Regions from separate parts of the Homo sapiens genome. Here region 1 is linked to region 2. The links are contacts of gene promoters, found by promoter capture Hi-C in human tissues and cell types (Jung and others, 2019). All regions are on one chromosome and are shown on one strand. The core of a region is centred on a gene start or on the middle of the fragment in contact, and the rest is flanking DNA. Distances in the headings are between cores, read along the strand shown. Region 1 has its middle 11 kb from the start of OR10H3. Region 2 holds the start of OR10H5 (olfactory receptor family 10 subfamily H member 5).

Region 1 (5,447 bases), core at 453-2,952, 39 kb before region 2:
GCACATTAATCATAGTTGTTTTAAATTCCCAGTCTGATTATTTTGACATGCCCACCTTATCTGGGTCTGTTTGTGATGCCTTCTCTCTCTCTTCAAACAGTCTTTTAGTATGCCTTGTAATTTTTTTCTTGATACCCAGACATGAAGTACTTGGGTAAAAGAACTGTTTTAAATAAGCCTTTAGCAATATGGCAGTAAGGTATGGGGAGGGGAATCATTCTATAGACCTATGCTTAGATATCAGCCCCCATCAGCAGATGTGCTAATCAGGATCCCCTGACACCACCTCCCTTAGGTGGAACAGGATGACTAGAGCTGGCAAGAGTTGGGTATTTTCTTTTTCCAGTGAAACTGTAATAAAACTCCAGTAGGTTAGGTTCTGGTTCAATTGTTTCTCCTCATTTGGAGTCTTTCATTGTTCTCTCCTGCCTGATTGCTCTGGCTAGGTCTTCTAGTACTATGTTCAATAGCAGTGGTGAGAGTGGGCATCCTTGTGTGGTTCCACTTCTTAAAGGGAATGCTTCTAGCTTTTGCCCATTCAGTATGATGTTGGCTGTGGGTTTGTCGTAGATGGTTACTATTTTGAAGTATGTTCCTTCAATGCCAAATTTGTTGAGGGTTTATGACATGAAGGGATGTTGAATTTTATTGAAAGCCCGTTCTGTGCCTATTGAGATGTGGTTTTTGTTTTAAATTCTGTTTATCAACTCATCATCTAGGTTTTAAGCCCCACATGCATTAGGTATTTGTCCTTATGCTCTCCCTCACCCTTTCCCCCACCCACCAACAGGCCCTGGTGTGTGATGTTCCCCTCCCTGTGTCAAGCCACCATGGCACATGTATACCTATGTAACAAATGTGCACGTTCAGCACATGTATCCCAGAACTTAAAGTAAGAAAAAAAGTTCTCATCTTTCTTTTCTTATATAAAAGATAGATACAATGATACTGGTGAGAATTAAATAAATTTATACATGTAAAACACCTCACCTAGAACATAACACCCAAACACAGGCTACATAAATTAATGTTTGTCCATAAAAAATGCATAAAAAATTCCGTTTATGTGCTGAATCACATGTACTGATTTGCATATGTTGAAAAGAATGAAGTCATGTCCTTTGCAGCAACATGGAGGCAGCTGGAGGCCATCGTCCTAAGCAAACTAATGCGGGAACAGAAAAACCAAATGCTACATGATCTTACTGGTAAGTGGGAGTTAGGCACTGACTACACATGGACACAAAGATAGCAACAACACACACTAGAAACTATTCGGTGGGGGAGGGAGGGAGAGGGGCGTGGGTGGAAAAACTACCTATCAGCTACTACGCTTACTACCTGTGTGATGGCACCATTTGTACACCAAACGTCAGCAACATGCAATTTACCCATGTAACAAGCCTGCACATGCACCTCCTGAATCTAAAATAAAAGTTGAAAAGAGGAAAATTGTTCCTCCTGAGGGTAGATCTTCATAGGAAGAACAGAATACTCTGGCGTATTTCAAAATGGGTCATTGTTCCTCCTCCCCTAACAGAAGTATGAGGGGTCTTTTCTCCTGCTTTTACAATGAGGACTTGACAGACCTCTTAGAGGTAAAACCAACAAAAGTGTGGGAACCCCCTCCAATAACTGGGTCCCCAGGAGTTTTGACCTCTCAGATTTGTCTATACCAAGCCTTCAGTAATTCTTCAATTACAGTAAACATTTCCCTTCTCTGATATTGGTTCCTCCAGAGGTTGCAATGGATGGATTTCTTTTACAATAAGTTGTGATTCCCTCTACTTGCCTGTTGGTCTTTCCAATTTGGGGAGCTGCAGTTTGCCCTGTGACATCTTTTACCAATCAAGACTGCTGAGTTTTCAGTTTATTCAGCTTTTTACTTATTGTCGGGATCCAGCAGCAACTTTCAGCTTCTTACATGCCAGATCAGAAACTGGAAGTCAAATATAAGTTCATTTTTTATATAACTACCATATCAACTTAAGTTTTGTTTATAACTTACTAAAAAGAACAAGTGCCTTAGTTTGTCCTGACATCCAATAAATGCTCTAATATCGGGATTACTTAAAGAGCATTTTTCTAATCAGAATGCAAACAAGAACTACATGTTAATTCAGTTATGTCTTTTAGGGACTTTTATTCTATAATCCTCATTCTCCTTCAATTTTTGACATTTGTTTTTGAGATAGTCTAGATTATTATTTTCTTATAGAAAGTCATACAAGCTATATTAGCACGTTGTTTCATGACAGCGTCATTTCACACGTTCGCAGTAGAATTTAAGAGTGGAAGGAGAAGACAGAGATGCTAACAAGAGAACTTGGACTTATCTCTTTCTGGAGAGAAGTCAGGGAATTGTCATGAGATCACAAATCAAGACAGATGGGCTGGGTGTGGTAGCTCATGCCTCTAGTCCTAGCATTTCAGGAGTCCAAGGAGGGAGGATCATTTGAGACCAGGAGTTCAAGACTAGCCTTTGCAATATAGCAAGATCTCATCTGTACAAAAATTTTTTGAAAATTTAATTGGAGGTAATGAATTCCCCTTCACCCCCACTATGAACATACCCTTACCCCTAGAGTTTTCTGATTTACTCTTTGGCCCATTGAGCATGAATTTTCTGATACTGCATCCCCTTCCGATAAGGGAGAAGAAATTATTACTCCCACCTCTCCTCTCCTCCTCCTGCCTGGACTCTGTATTCTGGGTTAAACTATGATTTATTTTAAGGATTTATAACGCCTGACACATGTAGCTGAGCCTTCTGCACAGAGAAATATTGGGAGTGGAGGCTAATTGGGTCAAAGGAAAGAGCCTTAAACCTACACTACAGCCTATCAGGGTGAATCAGAGGTCTACATTGCCCTACTCTTGTCTCACCTACTGCCACAATCTAGGTGAAGGTTTGGACCATAGAACGAGGAACTTGTGTGGAGACTTTTAGCCCCATAGATGCCCTCAGACCAGTCTGCAGGACACTCTGCCCTGACCTGCCCCAGCTTTGCACACATATTCTCCAGTCCTTGAAAGGAAACTGCCCCCTTCAAAGCTTACAAGTTTCTCCTCCTGGCTCAGCACGGGGAGCAAGTTCTCTAGATAGCTTCTTGTTAAATAAAATGGTAGGGAAGAAAACCCAGGCAGCTGAGCATAGAAGGGGATGAGCAACAAGCTTCCTCTCCAAACATGATTTTCCGTCCAAGGTCATGAGCACTCCCTGGTCTGCTTACATTTACCTTATGCTAGATTTCTGGTCAGCACAACAGCATGCAAAGCTTCAGCAGCTTCCTTCTAGATGGAGCTGTGGTGGTTCCTGTTTAGGCAGTTGTGCTCGAGAATCTTCTCCTCCAGGACTACTGGGCAAGGTCCAGTGCAAAGGAGTTCCCCAACACTTTTATCTACTTTCATTTGAATTTTTAAATTAAACATTGAACTCAGCACAAAGAGAGGCGAGGATCATGATTATTGGGTAGATTCTACTTCCAAATATTGTAATTGCAATTCCTTGTGTAATTATTATAGCACTAGGGCTACCAGAGCTTTAAAATCTGTTCTCAAGATTCTGAAGGTAGTAAGTGGTTTGGCTGGCATTTGACATATATTTTCAATGAGTTTAAAATTAGTTTTCTTGCCTGTATACCACTCTGCCTGACTAACCTTAAAATAATCTCTTTAAAATATCTGTGATATTTACCTAACTACATTTTTATAATGTCATTCAATACTATACTTATTGCATAAATATTTTACGTACTTATCATGTAAGTATACAAAATAGCACATATAGATCTTATGTTTCTCCATGAAGTTTTTAATTGTATCAGCTACATAATTTTTTAAATTTTTTTATTTTAAGTTCTGGGATACATGTGCAGGATGTGCAGGTTTGTTACATAGGTATACATGTGCCATGGTGATTTGCTGCACCTATCAATCCATCATCTAGGTTTTAAGCCCTGCATGCATTAGGTATTTATCCTAATGCTCTCCTTCCCCTTCCCCACCACCCCCCGGCAGGCCCTCGTGTGTGATGTTCCCCTCCCTGTATCCATGTGTTCTCATTGTTCAACTCCCACTTATGAGTGAGAACATGCGGTGTTTGGTTTTCTGTTCCTGTGTTAGTTTGTATCAGGTACATAATGTTTAATCATAGTTATATACTATCATTCATTCACCTTTGATCTACCCAAAACTATGAGAAGGGGAAAGAAAAGAATGAAAGGAAAGTGCGATCAATCTGAATAGGCCTGTATCGATTAGAGCAATTGAATTAATAATTAATATCATTTAAAAACAGAAAGCCTCAGACCCAGACTGGTTCACTGATGATTTCTACCAAATATTTAAGGAAGAAATTCTTACCAATTTTCTGCTTTATCTTTTAAAAGACAGAAGCAGGGGAAATATTTCCTAACTCATTTTATGAGACCATCATTACCCTAATAGCAAACCTAGACAAAGACATTACCAGCAAAAAAAAAAAAAAAAAAAAGAAAAGAGAAGAAGAAAATAAAAGAAAAAAATTAGGAAGAAAGGGAGAGGTAAAACTATACAGATTAAAATCTACCTTGGACATACATGCAAAATTCCCAGCAAAATATTAGCAAATTGAATCCAACAATATATAAAAATAATTATACATTATAACCAAATGGGATTCATTGCAGGTATGCAAGGCTGGTTCAATATTTGAAAATCAAATAATGTAAACCATCACATTAGCAAGCTAAAGAAGAAAAATCACATGATTATATCAATAGATGCAAAAAAGCATGTGACGAAATCCCACACCCATTCATAATTAAAAATTATCAGTAAGGTGGAAGTGGAGAGAATGCCTTCAACTTAGTAAAGAATATCTTCAAAAACCTACAGATAGCATCATACTTAATGGAAAGAAACGACAAGCTTTCCCACTAAGGTTAGAAACCAGACTAGAATTTCCCCTCTTGTCACTACTTTTCAATATTGCACTGGAAGTACTAAATGCAATAAGACAAGAGAAAGAAATAAAAAATACTTGGATTGGGCAGGAAGAGATAAAACTGTTTTTGTTTGCAAATGGGATGATGGTCTATGTAAAAAATCTAAAAGAACCAACAAAAACCCTCCTGGAACTAATAAGACATTATAGCAAGTTTGAAGGATACAATGTTAGTATATAAAAGTCAAACACTACATAGCAGCAGTAAACGTGAAATTGGAAATTAAAAATGCAATACTATTGACATTAGTATCCCCATAAAATGCTTACATATAAATTTTAAAAATGTACAAGATTTATATGTGGAAAATCGCAAATTTCTAATGAAAGAAATCAAAGAATTGAATGTAGACATATTCCATGTTCCTGGGTAGAAAAACTCAGTATCTATTTTTTATATCGTTTTTCTCTTTTTTATTGATACATAATAATTGTACGTATCTGTGGGTTACATGTGATA
Region 2 (5,217 bases), core at 1,433-3,932:
GTTACATATGTATACATGTGCCATGTTGGTGTGCTGCACCCATTAACTCGTCATTTAACATTAGATATATCTCCTAATGCTATCCCTCCACCCACCCCACAACAGTCCCTGGTGTGTGATGTTCTCCTTCCTGTGTCCATGTGTTCTCATTGTTCAGTTCTCACCTATGAGTAAGAACATGCGGTGTTTGGTTTTTTGTTCTTGCGATAGTTTGCTGAGAATGATGGTTTCCAGCTTCATCCATGTCCCTACAAAGGACATGAACTCGTCATTTTTTATGGCTGCATAGTATTCCATGGTGTATATGTGCCACATTTTCTTAATCCAGTCTATCATTGTTGGACATTTGGGTTGGTTCCAAGTCTTTGCTATTGTGAATAGTGCCGCAATAAACATACGTGTGCATGTGTCTTCATAGCAGCATGTTTTATAATCCTCTGGGTATATACCCAGTAATGGGATTGTTGGGTCAAATGATATTTCTAGTTCTAGATCCCTGAGGAATTGCCACACTGGCTTCCACAATGGTTGAACTAGTTTACAGTCCCACCAACAGTGTAAAAGTGTTCCTATTTCTCCACATCCTCTCTAGCACCTGTTGTTTCCTGACTTTTTAATAATCGCCATTCTAACTGGTGTGAGATGGTATCTCATTGTGGTTTTGATTTGCATTTCTCTGATGGCCAGTGATGACGAGCATTTTTTCATGTGTCTTTTGGCTGCATAAATGTCTTCTTTTGAGAAGTGTCTGTTCATATCCTTCACCCACTTTTTGATGGGGTTGTTTGTTTTTTCTTGTAAATATGTTGGAGTTCATTGTAGATTCTGAGCTTTGTTCTTTTGGCTTAGGATTGACTTGGCAATGTGGGCTCTTTTTTGGTTCCATATGAACTTTAAAGTAGTTTTTTCCAATTCTGTGAAGAAAGTCATTGGTAGCTTGATGGGGATGGCATTGAATCTATAAATTACCTTGGGCAGTATGGCCATTTTCACAATATTGATTCTTCCTACCCATGAGCATGGAATGTTCTTCCATTTGTTTGTATCCTCTTTTATTTCATCGAGCAGTGGTTTGTAGTTCTCCTTGAAGAGGTCCTTCTATCTGATCTTTGACAACATGACAAAAACAAGAAATGGGGAAAGGATTCCCTATTTAATAAATGGTGCTGGGAAAACTGGCTAGCCATATGTAGAAAGCTGAAACTGGATCCCTTCCTTACACCTTACACAAAAATTAATTCAAGATGGACTAAAGACTTAAATGTTAGACCTAAAACCATAAAAACCCTAGAAGAAAACCTAGGCAATACCTTTCAGTACATAGGCATGGGCAAGGACTTCATGTCTAAAACACCAAAAGCAACGGCAACAAAAGCCAAAATTGACAAATGGGATATAATTAAACTAAAGAGCTTCTGCACAGCAAAAGAAACTACCATCAGAGTGAACAGTCAACCTACAGAATGGGAGAAAATTTTTGCAATCTACTCATCTGACAAAGGGCTAATATCCAGAATCTACATCTGACTAATTTTTGTATTTTGAGTAGAGATGGGGTTTCGCCATGTTGGCCAGGCTGGTCTTGAGCTCCTGAACTCAAGTGATCCACCTGCCTCAGCCTCCCAGAGTGCTGGGATTACAGGCATGAGCCACCGCGCCCGGCCCCCAACTCACTAATTCTCTCTTCAATTGTGTCTGACATGCATTAAACTTCTCCTGGGATATTAATATTGTAGCTTTGGTTCTAAAAATTATATATCTTTTTTTTCAAATCAACCCTGCCGCTCTTTACAATGCTTTATCCTTGAAGATATTTCCAAAATTACATTTCGTTATTTAAACTTCGTAAGCAATATTGTTTCATAGTCCTTGCCTGATAATTCCAGTATCTGAAATCTTTGTTGGACTGTTTCTGGAGTTATGGGGAACTGGGAGATTCTGAAGGTGTTGATACCTGGGTCATGATGCACCCTGTCAAGTTTATGGGGAGGAAGAGGCAGAGCTGGAGCTCTTGGCCCCTCCACTCCATCTGGGCTTGCTGCAGGAACCTACCGTGTGACCTTGGCCTTGTTCCCTGCCCTCTGTGGGCTTTGTGTTCCCAGAGGCAACCATAGAGGATGCTTCTTCTGAGAATCACACCTCTGTGTCTCTCCAGATCCCTTTCCTGATATCTGTTGAGAAGAGACACCATCCTGGGAAACATCACCCAGAATCCAGTCCCATTTTTCCAAAATGCTTGGAATTGGGGCAGCCCAGCCCAGCCTCGCTAGCCGCAGGGGGTGGTGGTGGTGGTGGTGTCAGGGTTTGATGGTGGTGTCAGGGTTTGATGGTGAGATCTTTAGGGAGGAGGTGATGTAAAAACTGAAACCTCAAATGAGAACAGGACTGAGATAAGTGAGAGTGAGTAGTGGTGGAAGGGGTCCCAGGCAGGAGGAAGGGAGGAAAGATGGAAGAAGGGAAGAAGAGAGGAAGGAAGGAAGAGAAGGAAGAAAAGAGGGAGGGAAGCAGCAAAGGAAGGAGGGAGGCAGGAATGGAGAGGGCAATCCCAAGGTCCCCCGCCTCCCTCCTTGGACTTCGATTACCCTGCATCCTGCATCCCAGGCAGGCTCCTCAAGACACCTCTGGGAACGTGCCACTGGGGAAGACGCCTGCAGAGATGAAGCTCTCACCCTGGGTGCACTGTGCCCAGGGCCATTACAGGCCTGGCTGCAAGGCGTCCCTAAAGGTCTCTGATGAAGGTAAGTGGAGTCGTCTATTTCCAAACCTGCTTTCCAGGATGAAGTGGCAAGAGTACTGGGAGGTGGAAGGGAGAAGGCAAGAGAAGCAGGGAAAATTGGAACAGAGGGAGGCACAGGTTTGGGAAAAGAAACGAGAGGGAGCATGGGATGATATGGAGTAGGGGTTCTATAGCCTCAGCCACCTGACTCCAGGCTGGATCAGCCTGTCCTCACTCCAAGTCCCCCATAGAGTCCACCTACTGCCTAGAGCAGCCCCCTTTCCACAGCAGTCGTGGCCACCAGGGTCCATGCTGGGGTGGGGAGTGGTCTCTATACTAAGTTGTGGAGGAGGGTGGTTCTGAGCCAAGCGGGTGACATTGAGTGTGTCACCATGCATGTGGGTGTACTTAGGCATCACCCATGTGTACTCCTGCCTTCACTGTGTGTGTGTGTGTGCAGTTGTGTGCGCTTGTATGAGATTATTGTAGCTGCCATTTCAAAGTGCCGCAAACCTTGTGGCTTAAAACAAGATAAATGCATTCTTGCAGGGTTCTGGAGGCTAGACGTCTTAAAGCAAGACGTCTACAAAGCTACTCTCCCTCTGAAGATTCTAAGGGAGAAGATGCCTTGCCTCTTCCAGCTTCTGGGTGCTCTAGGCATTGATTGATTTGTAGCTGCATCGCTCCAATCTCTGCCTCTCTCTTCACGCGACCTTTTCCTCTGTGTGTCCTCCCCTCGTCTTTGAGGGGCACCAGTTGTTGGATTTAGTAAACAACCTAATTCAGAATAATCTCATTTTTATTTTTATTATTATTATTTTTTGGACAGGGTCTCGCTCTGTCACCCAGGCTGGAGTGCAGTGGCACGATCACAGCTCACTGCAGCCTCGACCTCCCAGGCTCAACTGATCCTCCCACTTGGCCTCCTAAGCAGCTGTTAGCGCAGGCACACAGCACCACGCCCAGCTAATTTTTGTAGAGATGGGGTTTTGCCATGTTGCTCAGGCTGGTCTCGAACTCCTGGATTCAAGCAATCCCCCGCCCCACCCACCTTGGTCTCCCACAGTGCTGGGATTATAGGTGTGAGCCACCACACCCAGCTGATCTCATTTTTGGATCCTTACCTTAATGACATCTGTAAAAGACTCTATTGCCACCTAAGGTCACATTATTTTATTTTAGTTTAGTTTAGTTTGGTTTCAGGGTACATGCTCAGGATGTGCAGGTTTGTCACACAGGCAAATGTGTGCCATGGTGCTTTGCTGCACCTATCAACCTATCACCTAGGTATTAAGCCTGGCATACATTAGCTATTTTTCTGAGGCTCTCCCCACCCCTGCCCTACCCCAACAGGCCCCAGTGTGTGTTGTTCCCCTCCCTGTGTCCAAAGGTCACATTCTGAGGTTCTGAATGAACATGAGTTTTGGAGGGACATGATTCAACACACACAGTGCCCTCACACATGGAATGGCTGTGTGTCTCCAGTTTATTCCAGCCCCAGATGAGCACCAGGCATTTGGCAAGGGCTCCATAGGTGTGTGCAGAATGAGTGGTGGTGTCTCTGGTTCTGGCTGGGGGTGTCACCGCCAGTGTGCATTTCAGAGCCAGTGCGACTGTGTGGCATTGCTCAGATCTGTCTGCCTTTGCATCTGTGTGTTCAGTTGTATGATAAAGTGCATAAGCAGAAAGAGCTGGATGAGTTGAATTGTGTCTCCTTTGAGGAGAGAGGGCACTGGAGCAGGGTCTGGGAGCCTGCGTGTGTGCCAGCCTGGGATTCTGCATTTGCACCAGCCTGGGATTCTGTGTGTGCACCAGCCTAGGGTTCTGCGTGTGCATCATTCTGGAGTTCTGTGTGTGCAGAAGCCTGAGGTTCTGCGTGTGCACCAGTCTGGGGTTCTGCCTGGGAGCCCTCAGCTGGGAGAAGGACCCTGACCTTTGTCCTTCCCTAGGTCTAGACTTGTGCAGGGGAGTTGGAGAGCCCCCTTGGAGATTTCTGCTAAGGTGCTGTTCTGGGAAAGAGTGGGACAGAATGTGCCAGAGAGCTGAGAGAGCCCTTTCTGTATTTCTCTTTTCTTTTTTTTCTTTTCTTTTCTTTTTTTTTTTTTGAGACAGGGTCTCGCTCTGTCACCCAGGCTGGAATGTAGTGGCATGAACATGGCTCACTGCAGCCTCGAATTCCTGTACTCAAGCAATCCTCTCACCTCAGCCTCCTGAGTAGCTGGAACTACAGGTGCACATCACCACGCCTGGCTAATTTAAAAACAATTTTTTTGGTAAAGATGGGATCTCACTATGTTGCCCAGGCTGGTCTCAAACTCCTGGCCTCAAGTGATCCTCCTGCCTCAGCCTCCAAAAGTGCTGGGATTATAGGTGTGAGCCACTGGGCATGGCCCCTTTCTGTAATTTTTAGTAACATTTGTGCATTTAGGAGCAGGGACCTTGGAGCCTGTTGGTAGCCAGGAGAGAGGAAGAGGTGAGCTGCACAAGGGAGGGAGTGCTGG

What was found. The method cuts DNA at HindIII sites, captures the fragments that hold promoters and counts their contacts. A contact is called where the count stands out against the background at its distance.
Region 1: a fragment that was not itself captured here is called in contact with the fragment with the promoter of OR10H5 in region 2 in 3 of the 25 tissues and cell types used here (adrenal gland, heart left ventricle and liver).

The regions. Positions count from the first base shown.
Region 1 is chr19:15,746,545-15,751,991 of GRCh38, forward strand. No RefSeq gene overlaps it. Among named protein-coding and RNA genes, the nearest start is that of OR10H3, 11 kb to the left of the region's middle. The HindIII fragment of the contact is 3,047 bases long and covers 180-3,226 here.
Region 2 is chr19:15,784,979-15,790,195 of GRCh38, forward strand. OR10H5 (olfactory receptor family 10 subfamily H member 5) reads left to right here and starts at 2,683. Exons shown (of 2, transcript NM_001004466.2): 1 at 2,683-2,738. The HindIII fragment of the contact is 26,370 bases long and covers 1-5,217 here.